3 separate regions of the Homo sapiens genome follow, and all the other regions are linked to region 1. Evidence: promoter capture Hi-C in 16 types of primary human blood cells and fetal thymus (Javierre and others, 2016). All regions are on one chromosome and are shown on one strand. Each heading gives the region's core, a stretch centred on a gene start or on the middle of the fragment in contact. The rest is flanking DNA. Distances are from core to core; before and after follow the strand shown. Region 1 holds the start of MTX3 (metaxin 3). Region 2 holds the start of JMY (junction mediating and regulatory protein, p53 cofactor). Region 3 overlaps MSH3 (mutS homolog 3).

Evidence for each region. The method cuts DNA at HindIII sites, captures the fragments that hold promoters and counts their contacts. A CHiCAGO score of 5 or more calls a contact.
Region 2: a contact is called between the fragment with the promoter of JMY here and the fragment with the promoter of MTX3 in region 1, in 2 of 17 cell types (naive CD8 T cells and fetal thymus). The highest score is 5.6, in naive CD8 T cells.
Region 3: a fragment that was not itself captured here is called in contact with the fragment with the promoter of MTX3 in region 1 in 1 of 17 cell types (total B cells); the score reaches 5.4 in total B cells.

Annotation. Positions count from the first base shown.
Region 1 is chr5:79,989,595-79,992,998 of GRCh38, reverse strand. It overlaps MTX3 (metaxin 3), which reads left to right and starts at 1,737. Exons shown (of 9, transcript NM_001363818.2): 1 at 1,737-1,841; 2 at 2,336-2,405; 3 at 2,763-2,839. The coding sequence starts at 1,761. It also overlaps a transcript of THBS4 not described here. RefSeq lists an enhancer at 2,070-2,239. The HindIII fragment of the contact is 4,262 bases long and covers 1-2,652 here.
Region 2 is chr5:79,234,410-79,237,813 of GRCh38, reverse strand. JMY (junction mediating and regulatory protein, p53 cofactor) reads right to left here and starts at 1,683. Exons shown (of 11, transcript NM_152405.5): 1 at 132-1,683. The coding sequence starts at 1,163. LOC124901011 (a long non-coding RNA gene) reads left to right here and starts at 1,791. Exons shown (of 2, transcript XR_007058836.1): 1 at 1,791-2,003. RefSeq lists silencers at 154-448, 732-1,001, 1,172-1,611, 1,642-1,691, 1,732-1,781 and enhancers at 122-541, 593-1,229. The HindIII fragment of the contact is 5,598 bases long and covers 1-2,200 here.
Region 3 is chr5:80,665,658-80,669,061 of GRCh38, reverse strand. The region is part of intron 3 of MSH3 (mutS homolog 3); the gene reads right to left. Among named protein-coding and RNA genes, the nearest start is that of DHFR, 12 kb to the right of the region's middle. RefSeq lists enhancers at 335-903, 904-1,471. The HindIII fragment of the contact is 574 bases long and covers 1,313-1,886 here.

The DNA of each region.
Region 1 (3,404 bases), core at 488-2,987:
ATATGGACCCTCAGCTTTATGGCTTAGGATTTTCTTTCCCCCTGCCTTGCCTTTGTCAGTCTATGGTTTGACATTTCTAACCCTCAAAACAGGGAGGTTCCATTACAATCTGAAAGTTGAATTACTTTACTTTCTTTATACTGAAGACTCAACAGATAGTCTCCACTGATCACACAGAGGATGCACTGTCCCTCCTTTGTGTTTCTGTAGTATTTTGCTTATATTTCTAACCCTACTCGTGATTATCTGACTTGTTACACCTTGGTGTGTGTATATCTCCTTTGTGCACTGTAAACTCCCGAGGACAGAATTCATGTTTTATATATTTCTGTATTGTTCCAGAACCTTATGATGTCTAAGACATAGGAGCTGCTCAATAAATGTTTCGACAGTTTTAATGGTACATATGTTATGCATTTTCCAATTATACAGTTATTATTAATGAATTCTCATTTCTGACATATCTCTTTTTCATTTCTTAGAACTCTTGGTTTTGAAACATGTAAAAAAGACTTTAGCAGGCTGGCACTGTAATTTGAATGATTATGTAAACAGTAAGGGAGTGCCTAGCAAATATTTGTTGAATAGTAATTTTACGAAAAGTTGCAGAGGTTTCTTTTGAGTTTTAGTTAAGAAGATCCGACCATCTCAGTGGAATAGAGGAAAGAACTCAGAGGCATGACTGCGAGGGTGTCCCAGAAAGACTACTGTGCCTTCTAGAAAAAAGACCCAGCACCCAAGTTCTAACTCTGAGACCCAGTCATATGTTTGGATCATAGCATTTCCAAGACCAAAATTTCCTCTTTAATAGTTTTTCTGAGAAACTGTCAGGTTTAACGTCAAGAAACATTTAGTCTGTGCTCATTAGGCCCACAGACATGACGAGCTACATGATTTGAGGGGCCCAGTCCAAAATAAAAATGCAGAGCCCCTTGTTCAAAACTTAAGAATTTCAAGACAGTGACGGAAGAGCATCAGCCAAATGAGGAGCCTTTTTAAGCACAGAGCCTTGTGTGGCTGCACAGGTCCCAAACCTATGAAGCTAGCCCTCTTCTGTGAAAGGCAAAAGGTCTGTAGCTAGGGAGAGAAGCTACAATTCAAATATGCACAAGGGGCTACAAGAACCCAGAGCTCCTAACTTTGTAAAAACATCACAGGGAAGGTGAGTTAAGCTCATTTTTGAGGGAGCAGCTGCATAGGGAAGAAAGATATTCCAGATTGAAGGACCAGCACTGAAGGTGGGCACAATTTACCTGACGTTCAGAAATACTGTAACTTTTAAGCAGGGTTGTGCCAGTGAACATGAGGGTGAGAACAGGTTGAGGCTGGAAAGGCAGGCAGAGGCCACATACATGGGAGAAGGGGTTGAACAATTACTGAGTGCCTCCTGTGTGCCAAGTTCTTTCTCTCCGACATTGTAAATACCACAATCTTGTAAATACTGGGTCATCCCTGTTTTACAAACAGGTTAATTTAGGCATCACACAGATTTAATGTTCAAAGGGTTTGGAACACTCTAGGGATCTAATAAATATTAATATTTGAAGAATTACTGGTGGGTCTGACTTAAGGCACACAACTCTTACCCTTTAGGCCAAGCTGCTCCTAAGAGTTCTTCTTAATCCCTCCAGTCGTTGTTTCTCTCATCTCTCAAGAGCCCCCAAATTACCCTTCCCTCCCTTAGCCACGCCCCCGCGTTTCACGTGCCGGAAATTAGGAGGAAAAGTACTTCCGGGATAGTAAAGGTCGGCCCGCGCAAGATGGCGGCCCCCTTGGAACTCAGTTGCTGGGGAGGCGGCTGGGGACTCCCATCGGTTCACAGCGAGTCCCTGGTGGTGATGGTGAGGCCGCCTCGCGGGCCAGGGCGCAGGAGGAAGGGGCGGGGCTGGAGGCGCCAGGCTGACTTGCCCCAGTTTCCCGCTGCGCTGCGGGGTCCAGGAGGGCCGAGCCGCTGCACGCTGCATTGCCCTGGGCTCCCTCCCACCGACGAGTCCCAACCTGGCCGATACCCCCGCCGAAGGCCGGCGGCGACATCAAGGCTTCTCCGCTTGGCTCCGAGTTTTGTCCGCCTCACAAAGCTGTCTGGGCGGTGGAGTGAAACCCCGAAGCAAGGGGCGCGCCCTCCCTACTCTGCATCCCCAGGACCTTTTGGGGAGCAAAGTCCTCGAAAGCCGGGTGGCTGGCGCCCGCGTCCCTACTTGAGATCACGGGGAGGGATGCGGCCTCAGTATCAGTCGCCTTCTGCCTTTGGGGGATGGGGCTGTGAAGTAAAGCTGCTCTGCAGCTTTGCATTACGCACTTGGTCTAAAATGTTTGATTGCAAACTCTGTTTCAGGCTTATGCCAAATTTTCTGGTGCACCCTTGAAAGTCAATGTGATAGATAACACCTGGAGAGGTTCAAGAGGTATAGTGTAAACCTTTACACTCCCCTTTCTGCACTCTTTTTTTTCTTCTTCCATTTAAAGCTGTGAGGTATATAGCTATAATATTGAGGATTTAGTTTCTTACCGTGACCTTGGCTCTGTGTTGTTTATGGTTTGATCATTCTGAGTAATACCTCAAAGTGCAAGCGAAATCACTGGAAATTATGAGAAACGAAAATGTTCTTTAGAACCGCTCTTTGTGAAACAGCAAAAAAACCAAGACAAGCTTACTCATTTTTTCCCCTCTAAATGTGCAACTGCTATAGTTTTTAGGATATTGGAATCTCTCAGAGGAAATCACACTGTGTCCTTGTATGTAAACTGTTTTTTGATTATAGGCGATGTACCAATTTTGACAACTGAAGACGACATGGTTTCTCAGCCAGCAAAAATACTAAACTTTTTAAGAAAACAGGTGGGTGGTTCACTTTGAAGAAGTAGATTGGTAGATTGTTGATCCCTGCATGTTGGGCTTTATTTTATTTATTTATTTTTTTTTGCCAACTCATTAGACAATTGGAGATACCTGGGACAAGATGTAAAAATAGATTTGAGAATCACTGCTCTAAAGCATGAGTTCTGTGATTTGAAAGTCATATGAAGAGGTAGTCAGTTTATATTTTAATAAACTTTGCTTGAATTTTATTGAAATTTGTATGTAAGTAGATTTAATTAGCCATTTTCACTATTAAACTTATTGATAGGATTGTGTATTTTGTCACATAGTTGGTACACATTTTGTGCTGGGCATGACACCTGAGCTCTCACCAACTAGCAACTATATTATTTTTAAAAAGCTCTTAATAGCAGTTTTATGGAATAATGTATCTAAATGTTTTAACAGTAGAGAATTATGTATCCAAAATGTTTAAACATGTAAAGATTTATATGAATGGATAAGTTATTTGTTTTGCCAATACTGTACTTAAAAAAATTGTGTCAATAACATTTTGAACTTTTATAAATTGGAAGGTTTTTTC
Region 2 (3,404 bases), core at 434-2,933, 760 kb after region 1:
CTCTTGGTTTCCGCTTGTCCAGAAAAACAACCGTCCTACTGCGCACACCCGACACCGAGGCTCCAGCCTTTGGTTTGGCCAGTAAACCAAAAGCGACCAGTAGAGCCCAGACTAGGAGCTCACTCACTCACCTCCTGGATGCGCTTCCTGGCCCGCTGAAGCACTTCTTCGTAGCCCTTCTGCCGCAGCTCGCTGAGGCTTTCGTAATACTCCTCGGGATCATCGGTCTCGGTGAAGAGCACCTGGGAGAGGATCTTCCAGCCGCAGGTGTCCAGGCCGTGGCCCAGGTAGACCTGGAGCTGGTAACACAGAGTGTCGATTTCCTGCTCGGTCATCTCGGGGGCGCCCCCAAACAGCACAGTCCACATGCCCGAAGGTTCCTCGGGGAACACCGGCAGGCACGGCTCCAACTGCGAGTTCACCGAGCACAGCTGCTGGTGCACGGCGCGCAGGTCCTGGAAAGAAAACAGTCCGGCCCAGCTGCACTCTTCGGCCGGAGACTCCAGCTCGGTGGCGGGCGGCGGCTGCTCCGCGTCCGAGAGCGCCAGAGGTGCCTCGTCCTCCTTCACCATTTCCAGCACCTCTATCTCCTCGGAGACCGTCCCAGAGGCGCTCACTATCCGTACAGAGGACACCTGGGCCTCTCTGGGCGCCGGCCGGGCTGCTGCAGCGGCTGCCCCCGCCGCATCGTCGGCTTCAGATGTTTTCTGACCCGGGATGGGTTTGGCCCGCACTGGGCTCCTAAGACGACTCTCCGCCCCTTTGCTGCCAGGACTCCGCAGCCGCGGGTCCCCCAGAAGGCTGCGAGTGCTCCGAGGAGAGCCGCCCTCCGCCCAGGCCGAGCTCCGCCGGGGCCCGGGGCTCCTAACCAGAGTTGCAGAGGCAGTGGCCTCGGGCCGACCCCTGCCCGCCGGGCTGCCGGGCCCGCGGCTCCCGTCGGACGCAGCTCCGCCGGCCTCGGCGCCCCCTCGCGCCCCCGCTTGCTCCCGGGAGCCGCTCCTCTGCCTCTGGGCCGTCCGGTTGTGGCAGGTTATGGCAAACTTGCCCTCAATCTCGTTCCAGGCCACAATAAAGACGAATTTGTGTTTCTCGCGCTCGTCGAACACATGGGGCCGCACAGCCACCCAGTCCGACTCGAGCGTCTCCTCCAGCGCGAACGACATGGTGGCTCCGGCTTCTCGCCGCGGGGAAGGGCCGCCGGCCCGGCCCGCCCGAGGACTCCCCGCTGGCTGCGCCGCGCCCCCCGCTCACCCTCGCCGGGCGCCTTCAGCCATCTTAGTGCGCCGGCCGGCTCTCCCGGCTCGTTCGCCTGTCCCTCCGCGCCCCGACCGCCGAGCTCCTTTGTGGCGCGGATCGAGAGAAGGACAATAAGCGTCCCGGGAGCAGGTAGTTCACATGGTCACCTGCGGCCGGATCTGTTTACAAGCTCCGCGCTGCCGCAGCGCCTCGCGGCCGCCCGCCGCCCCCCGCGCGAGGCCGTGGAGCTGCGTCTGCGGCGCTCCGGTGGTGAGGCGCGGGTCCCGCGGGGTCAGGCCGGCGCTGTATGCGTCCCGGTCGCTCGCCCAGGTCAAGATCCCCGCCCCCGCCCCTGGTGCTGCTGCAGAAAGCCCGGAGCCGGCCTGACTGATGAACCCGTCTCCTAAACTCTGCGCCTCAGCATCGCCACAATGTTGCCATTCGACTGCTGACGTCGGCGGCTCCACGAGGGACGTAAACATGGGCACGTGCCGCACGCTGGTGACGCGGCGGCGGCGGCGCGCGCACCCCGCCCGCGCGCGCCGGCGCCTCCTCTCGGCGTCCCCTGAGCCAGCCCGCGAGCGGCCGCGCTCCCGACTCTCCTTCCTTCCGCGCAGCCTCCAGTTCCCCGGGGCTGGAGCCGGCTGTCGGCTGGTTGCCGGCTCCGAGGGCGATGAGAGTGGCAGGTGTGCCCTGCTGCACAGGTGGCCTCCGAACCCGGGAAAAGAGGAACTAAGGCGGAGGAACTGAGACGTTTCGAATTCCAGGTATTGAGACCCTCGAATGTACATTTGCCTCCATTCTCCTGGAGGGAGCCCGGACGGAGAGTCGCTCCTGCGTTCAGAAGTAGCGTGTTGCCGCGGGGAACGGTGTGCTGAACTATGTGGGGCTCGCCCCCAGCCTGTTAGGTTCTCCCCTAATGCCCTTGAGACCAAAACAAAAAACAAAAACAATTCCAGAAGCTTTTCTGGAAAGACAGAGTTTAATATATGAAAGGAAGGTGTCTGAGGAAAGCCCAGTAACAGTCCAAAACAAAATGAAAAATGAAAATGCCATGTCCTAACAGCATGAATGTTTACATTTCAGTTCATTGGTGTTTTATTGCTTCAGGTTTCATCATTATGTACTGTTCTGTGAACCTCGTTTTGAGGTCACTGGGCTTTAGCCCTTTTGAAGTTGTATTCAATTATGGGAGTTCCCAGAATGCATATACAAAAACAGTCATATCAATCTCTGCTATTCTTACTAAACTATGATGAAACACATTCTTAAAATTAGTAGACTTTATAATAATTATTGGCATTCTTTTTCCGATTAGTATTCAAGTCACAGATGTTGTGCACCATAGTAAAGCACAATGGAAATTAGTTCTTTTACATTTATTCACATTTCTAAAGTATATACAAAACCGTTTGGATTAGCCTTGTATTGTTAGGTTCAGTAAAAACAGCTGTTTATTCAGATGACAGAACAGTACTGAACTAGCTAAGCTTCAAACTTAGTTCAGTATTGTCCATCTTAAACTCTAAGCTTCAACACTTGGTTCAGTATTGTCCTGATATTTGAATAAACAGCCAAAAAAAATTTTTTTTTTGAGACAGAGTCTCACTCTGTGGCCCAGGCTGGAGCACAGTGGCACGATGTCAGCTTACTGCAGCCTCTGCCTCCCGGGTTCAAGCGATTCTCCTGCCTCAGCCTCCCAAGTAGCTGGGATTACAGGCACACACCACCAAGCCCGACTAATTTTTGTATTTTTATTAGAGACGGGGTTTCTTCATGTTGGCCAAGCTGGTCTCGAACTTCTGGCCTCAGGTGATCCGACCGCCTTGGCCTCTCAAAGTGCTGGGATTACAGTCGTGAGCCACTGAGCCCAGCTGGTTTTTAACATTTTGTACAGTTCATTATTTGAAACCACAAATTTTCAAAGTTTGTAACTGAGTTTGTGTCAAATCTCAAATGCAAGTCAGAGACACGTTCTGAAAGGCAAAAAAGAGAGAAAACCCATTTCAAATCTGAATTACGGGGCTGGGCATGGTGGCTGACGCCTGTAATCCCAGCACTTTGGGAGGCTGAGGTGGGCAGATCACTTGAGGTCAGGAGTTCAAGACCAGCCTGGACAACATGGTGAAACCCCGTCTCTATAAAAAATACAAAATTAGTCGGGTGTG
Region 3 (3,404 bases), core at 350-2,849, 680 kb before region 1:
GAGGCATGGAGAGGTTGGCAAGAGAAATCCAGGTCATTATGATGGCAATGGCAGCCCATCTGGAGCAGCCACTGCCGTAACGCCAGCTGCAGTAGGAGAGGCGCAGCCAGGGCTGCATGCTCCACAGAACCGACAGGAGCCAGAAATGGGTGGAAGAAGCCTCGCCCCCTTCTGAGTTGGCAGGGTGAGAGCCTCACGCTCCCTGGGCACAGCTGTGGCTGCCCAGTTGTGGCTGCAAACCTGGGCATCCCTGTGCTCTTGGGGGCTGGGAGCAGGCAGGAGCCCCACCCTCCTGGGTGCAGCTGCAGCCACAGCCACCCAAGCTGTGGCTGTGGACCCGGGCATCTCTGCAATCTCAAGGGCCCAGAAAGGGAATTCCCCCTCCCTCTGCAGGCTCAGAAGTACCTGCTCCGACTGCCTGGCCTCTCCCAGCTCCCAGCACCCACTCTGATCTCAAAGTTAAGGCCAAGCCTAGGAACTGTTGCAACCTGGCTGGGTGTGCACATGCTCAGGGCAGTGCTAACATGCCAGCCCCCTGCTGCCTCGGCCCCCTCTGGACTTTGGACACTGATGAACATGGGAAGGAGGCCAAGGAGAGGGCTGAGGGCAGCTCAGAGCTGTCCTGCAGGTGCCCCATGGCACAAACAGCCTGGGTGCCATGGATGACGGCAGGAGGCAGACAGGCTCCTGAGCAGAAAGGGTCAGGTCCGGGTGAAGCCCCACCTTCAAGCCAGGAACAGCCTGAAGCCTGGGGGCCAGGCTGACGAACCAGAATTAGAACTTACGGTGTTTTCTGAGCCCGCCCATGGCAGCCCATGAACCAATCAGCACACACTTCCTCCTCTCAAGCCCATACAAATCCCCAGACTCGGCCAAACTTGAAGAGACAAGCAGACAACCTGCCTGCGGAGAGGAGCTACCCACTCCAGGGTCCCCTCTCGGCTGAAGGCTCATCACTTCTCACTTGATGGGATGCCCTGCCTGCAGAAAGAAGCACCCACTGCGGGTCTCCCCTCAATGTTCTGTCACTCAAGGAAGCCCCTCTTTGCCTTGCTCACCCTCCACTCGTCCACATACTTCATTCTTCCTGGAAGCAGGACAAGAACCTGGGACCCACCGAATGGCAGGGCTAAAAGAGCTGTAACACAAACAGGCCTGAAACCCATCTCTTGCTTGCCACATTGCAGCAACAAGAAGGAGAGAAGACAGGAGAGAAGAGCTGTGGACCTCTGGGGAGCTCAGACCTAGGGGCTCCTAAGCCAGGTCTATGACACCCTCTCTGGGGCTCTGCAGTTCCTGGAATCTCCAAGCTTCTGGGCGCCACTGTGTTCCCTGGTGCCAGCTGTGGAAGCTGTTTGTGGTACGCCTGGTCCAGCCCTCACTCACGCTGGCACCTGGAGCTGCCCACCCTGCCGAAGCCAGCATGCCTGGCAGTGCACAGGGGCCAGACCCCATGGTCACCTGCTCACACACCCCTCACCCTCACCACTCCACTCCTGGCTCACCCTTGGCAGCTGCGAGATTCAGGCCAAAAGCAAAAGCCAAGCACAGCCTGCCAGGCCGAGTGGGAGGAATGAGCCCAGCAGGCCCAAGTAAAAACTCGGGCAAAGGCACCACCAGCCACAGAGGTTTACAGCTGGCGAAGCAACACCCCAAGGATTGCATAACAATTTTCCTATACCTAAGAATGCCTTTGCTTTTAATTTTGATGAGTTTCCTATTTTGTTTCCATGACTTTTATGTCATGGAATATAGTATGTATTCTATATTAAATGCAGGTATATACTATGTAGTATAAAAGTTAATCAACACAGAAAATATATTTCTTACATTGTAAAAACTTATTCTTACTTTATACTTTATTCTTTTAGGAAATGAGATAAGCTTCCAGGAAAAAAAAGTTTTATCCTTATGGGATGCTAACAATTAAATCAATCTAAATACTTGAATATTAAGCAACTTTTTTTTAACTTTCATTTTAAGTTCAGGGGTACATGTGCAGGTTTGTTATATAGGAAAACTTGTGTCATGAGGGTTTGTTGTACATATTAATACCTGGGTAACAAAATAAGCAACTTTAAAAAAAATGATTTGGATAGAAATACTCATCAGATACATTACATTCTATTTCATATTCCCAGAGACAGTATGCTGAACTCAATTTAACCTTGTCTGGACAATTCAGAGTGATCAGAATATATTTCGAAACCTATTGAGAGTTATGGCATTGCTGACCCCACCCTAATGGTCCTGGACCATGGGGCATTTATGTTCACTCAGTAGCTTTTTGCCATTCATCCACGTCTATCCATGCCATCAAACAGCTTATCACCTGTAATAATGGCACTGCTTCTACGTGCCCCCTCTGTCTACTTACTTCTAATTTCCTGTGATGTGGACATGCCAAGTTGGTCATTCTATGTATAAAGCAATAATGTATACGCTCTTCTGAGACCTTGGAGTAAATGCTCCTATCAATAAAGTGAGCTTTAATGGATAAACTTTATGACTTCTATGCTTAATAACCACTATACTTAGGTGAACTGCTTCTAAGTATTAAAAGAGACTAAAAACAAAAACACCTTTTTTTTCTTGATGATCTAAGATAAGTCAATCAATATTAGCCTGGCTGAGGGAGGAGTTCATGGATCTGGGCTTTGTGGGAAAGGTGTGAAATCTTGAAAATTATAGGCAAAATTTTGTTGGCTTGAGAATTTTTCTGAAGAAAAAGGCCAACAGCTTTCATTAGAATTTCAATGACTCATATATATACATACACACATACATATACATATATAGAACCATTTCTCTAATTCAATGGTTGTCAATCACAGCTACAGATTAAAATGACTGCTTTTCCTTTAGTCTCACCTCATCTGCAGGCTAAGGTGGGAGGATTGCTTGAGACCAGAAGTTTGAGACTACAGTGAACTATAATCGCACAACTGTACTCTAGCCTGGACAACAGAGCAAGACTCCATCAATAAAAATAAAATACAAAATAAAATGTAAACTTTTAAAAAATATCCATGCCCATTTGTCAGTGAAAACCAATTAGATAAGATTCTGAGGGAAGGTTCTTAATGGCAATTTTTGTTTGAAGTTCTCCAGGTGATTCCAATGTAAAGCTAAGGTTGCGAACCAATCACTATTCTGAATTACAGATTTCAATGATGGAGCATGAGTTAAATTCCCTGATTCTGCAGTTATGAAAACCATTAAAAGTCTCAAAACAAATAGTGGATAAAGTAAAAAGCCCATGTTCATTTGGCTTACATTTGAATTTACTTTCTATCTATCAAGCTTTCAACTGAAACCTCAAAATATCTAAGTTGCCCATCATGATTTTCCACGGTAATCATGGAAACTCTAAGGAAGACTGTAAGAAACTGTGCTTGTATTAA